3 separate regions of the Homo sapiens genome follow, and all the other regions are linked to region 2. The links are contacts of gene promoters, found by promoter capture Hi-C in human tissues and cell types (Jung and others, 2019). All regions are on one chromosome and are shown on one strand. The core of a region is centred on a gene start or on the middle of the fragment in contact, and the rest is flanking DNA. Distances in the headings are between cores, read along the strand shown.

The links. The method cuts DNA at HindIII sites, captures the fragments that hold promoters and counts their contacts. A contact is called where the count stands out against the background at its distance.
Region 1: the fragment with the promoter of IFITM5 here is called in contact with the fragment with the promoter of POLR2L in region 2 in 1 of the 25 tissues and cell types used here (heart left ventricle).
Region 3: a fragment that was not itself captured here is called in contact with the fragment with the promoter of POLR2L in region 2 in 1 of the 25 tissues and cell types used here (lymphoblastoid cells).

Annotation. Positions count from the first base shown.
Region 1 is chr11:298,182-301,206 of GRCh38, forward strand. It overlaps IFITM5 (interferon induced transmembrane protein 5), which reads right to left and starts at 1,345. Exons shown (of 2, transcript NM_001025295.3): 1 at 1,124-1,345; 2 at 19-532. The coding sequence starts at 1,309. The coding sequence ends at 320. RefSeq lists an enhancer at 516-675. The HindIII fragment of the contact is 20,921 bases long and covers 1-3,025 here.
Region 2 is chr11:841,090-843,789 of GRCh38, forward strand. It overlaps POLR2L (RNA polymerase II, I and III subunit L), which reads right to left and starts at 1,440. Exons shown (of 2, transcript NM_021128.5): 1 at 1,325-1,440. The coding sequence starts at 1,419. TSPAN4 (tetraspanin 4) reads left to right here and starts at 1,763. Exons shown (of 9, transcript NM_003271.5): 1 at 1,763-1,826. RefSeq lists enhancers at 1-443, 444-1,189, 1,190-1,933 and silencers at 1,202-1,831, 1,942-2,031, 2,052-2,281, 2,267-2,435. The HindIII fragment of the contact is 28,886 bases long and covers 1-2,700 here.
Region 3 is chr11:213,626-216,360 of GRCh38, forward strand. It overlaps RIC8A (RIC8 guanine nucleotide exchange factor A), which reads left to right. Exons shown (of 10, transcript NM_001286134.2): 10 at 605-1,488. The coding sequence ends at 725. It overlaps SIRT3 (sirtuin 3), which reads right to left. Exons shown (of 7, transcript NM_012239.6): 7 at 1,405-2,735. Among named protein-coding and RNA genes, the nearest start is that of MIR6743, 5.7 kb to the left of the region's middle. The HindIII fragment of the contact is 6,100 bases long and covers 1-2,735 here.

The sequences.
Region 1 (3,025 bases), core at 95-2,594, 540 kb before region 2:
AAAGAGGCCAGGAGGCACTTTCTGGAACCAGGCACTTTTAATCGTGGAACCGAGGGGCCTGGAGTGTGAGGAGGGAGGGGCAGGATCGGGGGCAGAGTTAGGGCCCGGGAACTCTCGGGTTAGGGTGAAGACCCCGGGGTCTGACTGGTTCAGCCTTAGGTGCCCATGTTGGGGCTGGAGGGCCCCAGGATCAGGATGGGGCAGGGATGGAGGCCCCACAGAAGGAGGGCCAGGCTCCGGGGAGTCAGTATTGGGCCCCAGGGGCAGCAGCCTGGGGTCAGTGTCCTGGGGCTAGTGCCCCAGATCAGGACCCAGCCTGTCAGTCATAGTCCGCGTCATCAAACTTGGTGCTGAAGAAGGCGGCAGAGTCCTTGGCCAGCCGGGCCAGGTGCAGGGCACCAGTCACCACCAGCCCCAGGAGCAGCAGTGGCGGCACCAGCGTCCACATCGCGGCCAGGATGTTGTAGCACTTGGCTTTGGAGCCAAAACGCCGGGCCGCTTCCAGGTCACCAACCACCTTCTGATCTCGGGCCTGCAGAGAGACCAGACCACAGGGCCAGATCTCTATGTGTCCTCGGGGCCTGGGGGCCCTTCCCCACCCACACCCTGGGCACCTGGAAGGCCCCTACTGCACCCAAAATCTGGATGGAGGGGTGTGGCCTGAGGAGATACTCCTTGGGGCCCCAGCTATGGACCCGGGGGCCATCCCAGGCCAGTGTCAGCCTATCAGAGCTCTCTATGGGTGAGGGTCCCCCAGGGTGCTGAGACACCCCCCACCCTGCCAGCCAGGAGCTGAAGTCAAAGGGACCTCTGTTCCAGAAGCCCACAGCATGTGAACCCCCTCTTGATTGCAGAGACCTCTGTGGGTGCCTCCCAATGGCCTCTGTGCTCTTGGATGGGCCAGACCCCGTTAAGAAGAGGCCCCCCGGCCTTGCCTTCGTGAGGAGCTCTTTCCCGGCCATACTGATAGCTGTGCCCACAGAGCCCCTCACGGACAAGCAGAGCCCCCCGCGGCCCCCAGCACGGCAAGGACCCCCCACGGAGCTCCCCATCCCTCCCCCTTCCCCCCACCTTGATGGAGTAGTGGAGCCTCCCCCGCAACCTCGGTAGGGCCCCTGCCCACCTTGATGGAGTAGGCCAGCGCCAGGAAGCCGAGGCAACACAGATTCAGGTAGAGGGTGCTGAACACCGACCAGATCAAGTGGTCTCGAGGCGGGGGGTGCGGGGCCCCCAGTGTGAGGGCTGTGTGGGCACCGGCCTTGCTGGGCGTGGGGGCCCGGGTGTCCTCGCGGGGATACGCCGTGTCCATGGGTTCCAGCGCCGTCTCTTCCACACTCAGACTGGTGCTGGGAGGGTGGGCACCCGCTCACTTATAGCCCTGTCGCCCTCCCGGCCCAGCCCCTCAACGCTATATATAACACAAATTACAGCCTGCGGGCCGAGGGTGCGGCCCGCCCCTTAGCCCCCACCCCAGGGAGCCCCTGTCCGAGGCTGCCTTGGACCACCCAGCAGGGTCCCTCCTGACAGACATCCCATCTGGGAGCCCCCCGCTTGGAAGGCTACGGCCGGGCAGTGGCAGAGACCCCCACCCATCCCCCCACCCCCATCAAAGGCTGCTGGCCAAGTGGGCAGTGGGCAGACCACTGGCCAGAGCCCCCTCCGTCCAGGCCAAGAAGAGTTGGAGGTGTCGCCTCAGGGCCATGGGCCTCATAATTCAGGGATGTACAGGAGCCCCCTCCTCAGAACCAGAGCTGCTGAAACTGCAGCCCCTTCATTCCCAGAACTCAACTCTGCCCCTAACACTCTCAGAGCACCAGCGCCAGGCCCTAGGAGCGCAGGCATCCCTGCAAGGGGGACAGGGAGGGCGGCTGTCGGAGGAGGGCGCGAGAGAGAAGGAGAGAACCACATGGGGGGAAAGCCAGGGGGTGCAGCCTGTTAGGAGCCGGCAGGGGAACCCCCAGGGACCAGCAACAGCTGTTAACACTGGTGTCGGGATGCAGGGAGCCTGTGGGCTCCTGTGGTGGACACTCCCCTCAGCCTCCTCGGCTGCCCTCCCTGATCCCAGAATGTCTGTGGTGAGTGGTCCTGTTTAGGGCTCAAGGTCCGCCCCAGTCTTGTCTCTGGCTGTAGATGCCTGTGTGTGCTGACGACTCACATTTATGTCTTCAGCCCAGACTTCCCCCCAAAGACATTGGCTTGGTCCCCAGCTCTGGACACACACACGCAACTCCTGCTCTGTGGACCTCCACCCACGTGCCAACAATAGACCCTGGATCCTCCCTCCCAACCTCCTCTGCCAAGCCTTCCCCGGAGCAGTGGTGGCAACTGCACCGGGCCAGAAGGCTCAGCTTCCCCGTCTCCCAGTCGGCCACACTCCTGAGTGCCCAGGACCAAGCTGCCCTCCCTCCTCCAGGACGCACACTCGCCACCTGCAGGGGATGGTTGGGTGGGGGGTTCCTTGCTGCTGTGCTTGAGCCTGTGAACCCCAAATATCTGAGACAGGTCTCGGTTAATTTAGATTATTTTGCCAAGATTGAGGATGTGCCTGTGACAGCCTCTGGAGCTCCTGAGGATCTGTACCCAAGGTGGTCGGAGCACAGTTTGGTTTTATACATTCTAGGGACACAGGAGACATCAGTCAACATATGTAAGATGAACATTGGTTCAGTCTGGAAAGGCAGGACAATGCAAAGCAAGGCAGGGAAGACTCGAAGTGGGGAGGCGCTTCCCGGTCGCAGGTAGATAAGAGACAAAGGTTGCATTCTTTTGAGTTTCTGACTTGCTTCTCCAAAGGAGGCAACCAGATATATGCATTCACCTCAGTGAGCAGAGGGGTGACTTTTTTTCTTTTGTTTTTGTTTTTTTTTTTTTTTTTGTGAGACAGAGTCTCACTCTGTCGCCCAGGCTGGAGTGCAGTGGCGTGATTTTGGCTCACGGCAACCTCCGCCTCCCGGGTTCAAGCGATTCTCCTGCCTCAGCCTCCCGAGCCGCTGGCACTACGGGCTCCCGCCACCACGCCCGGCTA
Region 2 (2,700 bases), core at 190-2,689:
GCAGAGACACAGAAGCTTGGGAAAGGGGAGGCCACATGGGAGGCCCCTGCCGTTCCTATCCGGGGAAAGGGTCTGGACAGGCCGCCAGCCACTCAGTCTAGCAGCCCACTCGCTTTCCTCGTTTGTCCAGCAAGCTGCACCAAGTGCCGATGGCAGGCTGGCGCACACAAGCCCAGGGCTTCACATGTGACGAAGACTCAGTGGGCGAGGGTCAGACTCCAGCGGGGGCACCAAGACTCAGGCACCGTGGTGACAGCAGCACCAAGGGACAAGCACAGGAGAAAGACGCCTCCCCTACAAAGCCTGATGAGGGTGGTCAGCAAGTCTACCCTGCATTTCTTTTTCTGTGTGTGTGTGTGCGTGAGACGGAGTTTCACTCTCTCTTCCAGGCTGGAGTGCAGTGGCGTGATCTTGGCTCACTGCAACCTCCACCTGCCTCCCAGACTCAAGCGATTTTCTCGTCTCAGCCTCCCAAGTAGCTGGGACCACAGGTGTGCACCGCCATGTCCGGCGAATTAAAAAGATAGAGCCAGGCGCGGTGGCTCACGCCTGTAACCTCAGCACTTTGGGAGGTCGAGGCGGGTGGATCACCTGAGGTCAGGAGTTCCAGACCAGCCTGGCCAACATGGCGAAATCCCATCTCTACTGAAAATACAAAAATTAGCCGGGCGTGGTGGCACACGCCTGTAGTCCCAGCTACTCGGGAGGCTGAGACAGGAGAATTGCTGGAGCCCAGGAGGCGGGGGTTGCAGTGAGCCGAGATCGCGCCACTGCACTCCAACCTGGGCGACGGAGCGAGACTCCGTCTCAAAAAAGAAAAATAAAATAAAATAAATTTCTGGAGATCAGGGTCTCCCCAGGTTGTCCAGGCTGGTCTCGACCTCCTGGGCTCAAGCAAGCCTCTCGCCTCGGCCTCCCAAACTGCTGGGATTACAGATGTCAGCCGCCGCGCCCGCCCGTCCTGCAGCGAGGTTTGCAGGACATGGGGTGGGCCTGGGGGCAGAGATGGGAATAGGGCGGAGGCCAAGGGCTTTACTGCGGGTGACAAGACGCCTGCGACCCGCCAGGCCACCTAGAATCCCCAGGACACCACTGGTTTGAAGCCCAACTCCGTTCTCTTCCCCAGACTTCAGGGGATAAGGTTCTCCCGAAAGCAGATCACAGAGCGGGGCTGGAGAAGCCGGGCCTGAAGCTGCTCATGGGGCGCTGGCCTCAGGCAGCGCTGCGCCTCCCGCCCCGGCGCGCACCCCAGGGCGGACTCAGCCCCCAGCCCCGGCCCGCGCCCCACGGCGGACTCAGCCCCTAGCCCCGGCCCGCGCCTCACCCCTCGGTGTACTCGGCCTGCAGCAGCCCCAGGTAAGCCTCCCACTTGTTGCCGACGATCTTGCCACAAGTGAAGCAGCGTACAGGGATGATCATGGCGGCGGCGCGTCCCAGACTGCCCGGCCCGGCCCGGCCGCACGCGAAGAACCCCCCCAGGCCCCGCCCCGGGCGCGTCCACTGTTGCGGGAGAATCGGCTCCGCTCGTTCTCCGCTGTTCCGGCCGTCCCTCCACCGGCCCCGCCACCGCTGGCCGCAGTTTCCGCCGCGATAGGGGCTTCCCGTGCGTCCCGGGGCTCCTGGGCCTGTGCGTCCCGGGGCTCCCGGGCCCGCGCGGCCGCGGCAGCAGCAGACCGCACACCCCCGCCCACCGTCTTGGTGCATCCCGGCGCTACGGCGTCTGAGCAGGGCCGTAAAGCTGCGGCGGCGGTTCGCGTTTCTCGTGTCCGCTTGACTGACAGCTGCGCGGCGGGAGCGGGCGGCGCGAGCGGGAGGCGGCGGCGCAGGTACTGCGCCTGGGGGTTGTGGGGGCGTGCGGCCAGGGTCCCGTGGCCGGAGGTGTCCGACCGGGAGCGGCTGGAGCCGGACGCGAGCGGGGCGCGCGAGTTCGAGCCCAGAGCCGACACGCAGCAACAAGTGGGGTCCGGCGCGGGGGCTCGGGGAGAGGGCGGGCGGGGGCCGGGGCGGGTCTTCCTGCCGCCCCTCCTGGCCGCGCCGAGTAGTGGGTTCCTCCGCCTCGGCCTCTGCCCGCGGGGTGTCCGGGGCTCTCGGCGCTGAGTTCGGGGGTCCCATTCTGGACGCGGCCCAGCCCCTAGGGGCGCCGCCCTGGCCTCAGCTGCGCAATTACAGCCCCCGCCGGCAGCTCCCCGCCCCGGGCTCCTGTCCGCGTTCTTTCCGCTCTTTCCCGGGAATGGGGTCGGGGTGCGCCCTCCCGGGTCCCGGCTCTGCTGGCTGCTCGCCGTCCCGAGCTCCCGACGCTCAGACGCGCCTCTGAGCACGGGGAGAGGGGACCCGGGAGGGAGGTCGGGGAGGGAGTCGTGGAAGAGGTGCTTTTTGAGCTGAACCTGGAAGACCCCGGCACAGGGGATCCCTGGGCAGACTCCCGGAGGCTGCACTGGCAGGACCCCCTGAAGGCCTCAGCTCTGGCTTGCCCTGGAGCTCAGGGCCTACGGACGACGAGGGACGAGGAGCCCGTGTCTCTCGGATGGAGTGCGGGGGGGCTGGCACCAGCACCCTTCTTGCTGTGCCCCTGGGGTGGGGGTGAGGAAATGGGGGGTCGGTGTGCAGTGAGAGGCAAAGAAGGCTCCTTGGAGGTGCGAGGTGGGCTGTGGGGGTGGGTGGGCCGCAAAGCGGCACCCATGGGGGGCTCTGGGCTGGTTT
Region 3 (2,735 bases), core at 82-2,581, 630 kb before region 2:
GATAACTGAGGCCCAGAGAAATTAAGAGACTGTCTAAGGCCGGGCGTGGTAGCTCACGCCTATAATCCCAGCACTTTGGGAGACTGAGGCAGGTAGATCACAAGGTCAGGAGATCGAGACCATCCTGGCCAACATGGTGAAACCCCATCTCTGCTAAAATACAAAAAAAAAGTTAGCTGGGCGTGGTGGTGGGCGCCTGTAGTCCCAGCTGCTCGGGAGGTTGAGGCAGGGGAATCACTTGAACCCAGGAGGCAGAGCTTGCAGTGAGCTGACATTGTGCCACCGCACTCCAGCCTGGCAACAGAGTGAGACTTCGTCTCAAAAAAAAAAAAGAGACTAATGTCGCCAGATTTATTGGAGATGGCCCAGTGTCCAAATTAAGAGCCTGCTTAAGGCCAATTTAGATGTTTAAAATAGGAAACTGCTTAAAGCCAGGAGGCAGCAGTTAGGGTTTGGGCCCAGTTAACAGAAGGTCCAACCAGGCTTCCCCAGTAAATGGGAGCAGCCTACTTGGTAGAGAGGAAGGTAGCAGCCACGGGTGAGTAGGACCCCTGCCTGGCCAACTGGGCCCCTTCCCCAGCCCCACTGCACCTTTCCCCAACAGGAACAGAGTCATCCAGCCAATGGGGATGAGTCCCCGGGGTCATCTTACGTCCCTGCAGGATGCCATGTGCGAGACTATGGAGCAGCAGCTCTCCTCGGACCCTGACTCGGACCCTGACTGAGGATGGCAGCTCTTCTGCTCCCCCATCAGGACTGGTGCTGCTTCCAGAGACTTCCTTGGGGTTGCAACCTGGGGAAGCCACATCCCACTGGATCCACACCCGCCCCCACTTCTCCATCTTAGAAACCCCTTCTCTTGACTCCCGTTCTGTTCATGATTTGCCTCTGGTCCAGTTTCTCATCTCTGGACTGCAACGGTCTTCTTGTGCTAGAACTCAGGCTCAGCCTCGAATTCCACAGACGAAGTACTTTCTTTTGTCTGCGCCAAGAGGAATGTGTTCAGAAGCTGCTGCCTGAGGGCAGGGCCTACCTGGGCACACAGAAGAGCATATGGGAGGGCAGGGGTTTGGGTGTGGGTGCACACAAAGCAAGCACCATCTGGGATTGGCACACTGGCAGAGCCAGTGTGTTGGGGTATGTGCTGCACTTCCCAGGGAGAAAACCTGTCAGAACTTTCCATACGAGTATATCAGAACACACCCTTCCAAGGTATGTATGCTCTGTTGTTCCTGTCCTGTCTTCACTGAGCGCAGGGCTGGAGGCCTCTTAGACATTCTCCTTGGTCCTCGTTCAGCTGCCCACTGTAGTATCCACAGTGCCCGAGTTCTCGCTGGTTTTGGCAATTAAACCTCCTTCCTACTGGTTTAGACTACACTTACAACAAGGAAAATGCCCCTCGTGTGACCATAGATTGAGATTTATACCACATACCACACATAGCCACAGAAACATCATCTTGAAATAAAGAAGAGTTTTGGACAAAAATGTATGTGTAAATTATCAAATAAAGGGGCCAGGCACAGTGGCTCATGCCTGTAATCCCAGCACTTTGGGAGGCCGAGGTGGGTGGATCACTTGAAGCCAGGAGTTCGAGACCAGCCTGGCCAACATAGCAAAACCTTGTCTCTATTACAAATATGCCCATGTGCTAGGTGTGGTGGGACACACCTGTAATCCCAGCTACCCAGGAGAATCGCTTAAACCCGGGAGGCGGAAGTTGCAGTGAGCTGAGATCATAACACCGCACTCCACCCTGAGTGACAGGGCAAGACTCAAAAAATAAAAAAGGAACATTAACTAGGGTTAGAAACTAACTTCATTCTTTTTAGAATTCAACAGTTTTCCTAGGTCACCAATTCCACCTTTTGTTCTTATTAAGGCGCAAAGTCACAGGACCCCCTTCCTGGGAGTCACTGTCATTAAATCTATTGCCGTCAGCTCAGCCCAGGGTAGGCAAGGTTCAAGAATGGGAAGTGCTTTTGTCTGGGGAAACACGCAGGTAATGTGATGCTAGGAAGGAGGATGTGCAGGTGGGTGAGAGCCCAGGAGGGAGCAGCTGGTGCCTGACAGGGTGAGCCATCAGGGCTGGGCCTGGGTACAGCCCCAGGAGAAGGAGCCTGTGCAGAAGTAGCAGTTCAGTGGATTCCACCTCCTATGTCACAATCCAGCAGGTGGCCAGGACTCAGCCTGGGTTTTAAGTGAGTAATGCCTTCCCTGTCTCAGAGATTAGCTCTAACAGTGTCACTAGAGGAAGCCCTGGCGAGGGTGGGGGGGCGTAGTGTGGGGACAAGGAGGCCAGATAGAAAGTGCTGGAATGTTCTGGAACAGATCTGTTTCTGGAGGAGAGGCTGAGTATGGAGAGTCAACAGAATGTGACCACCTTCAGAGGGAGGAGCTGGGCCGTCTCCAATAAATCCAGGGACAAATGCCTTCAGTCCTCAGACTGTTCCAATAGAGGGGACGCCACGTATCCCAGGGTTCCCTTTCCAACTCATGTCAACACCTGCAGTCCCTTTGAGGAGACTAAATGTATTTCATGCTGGAAAGAACAGATTTTCTCTCATTAAAAATAGCCCCACTAAAGGAGACCAACATGCTAGAAGTGCGGCACCAGGGCCTCAAGACTACACTTCGGAACATGAAGAGGGCTGGGGACCGCTCGGCCCAAGTCTGGATCTTGTAACCAACAGATGCCGAGCTTGCCGTTCAACTAGGCACAGAAAGCAGACTCG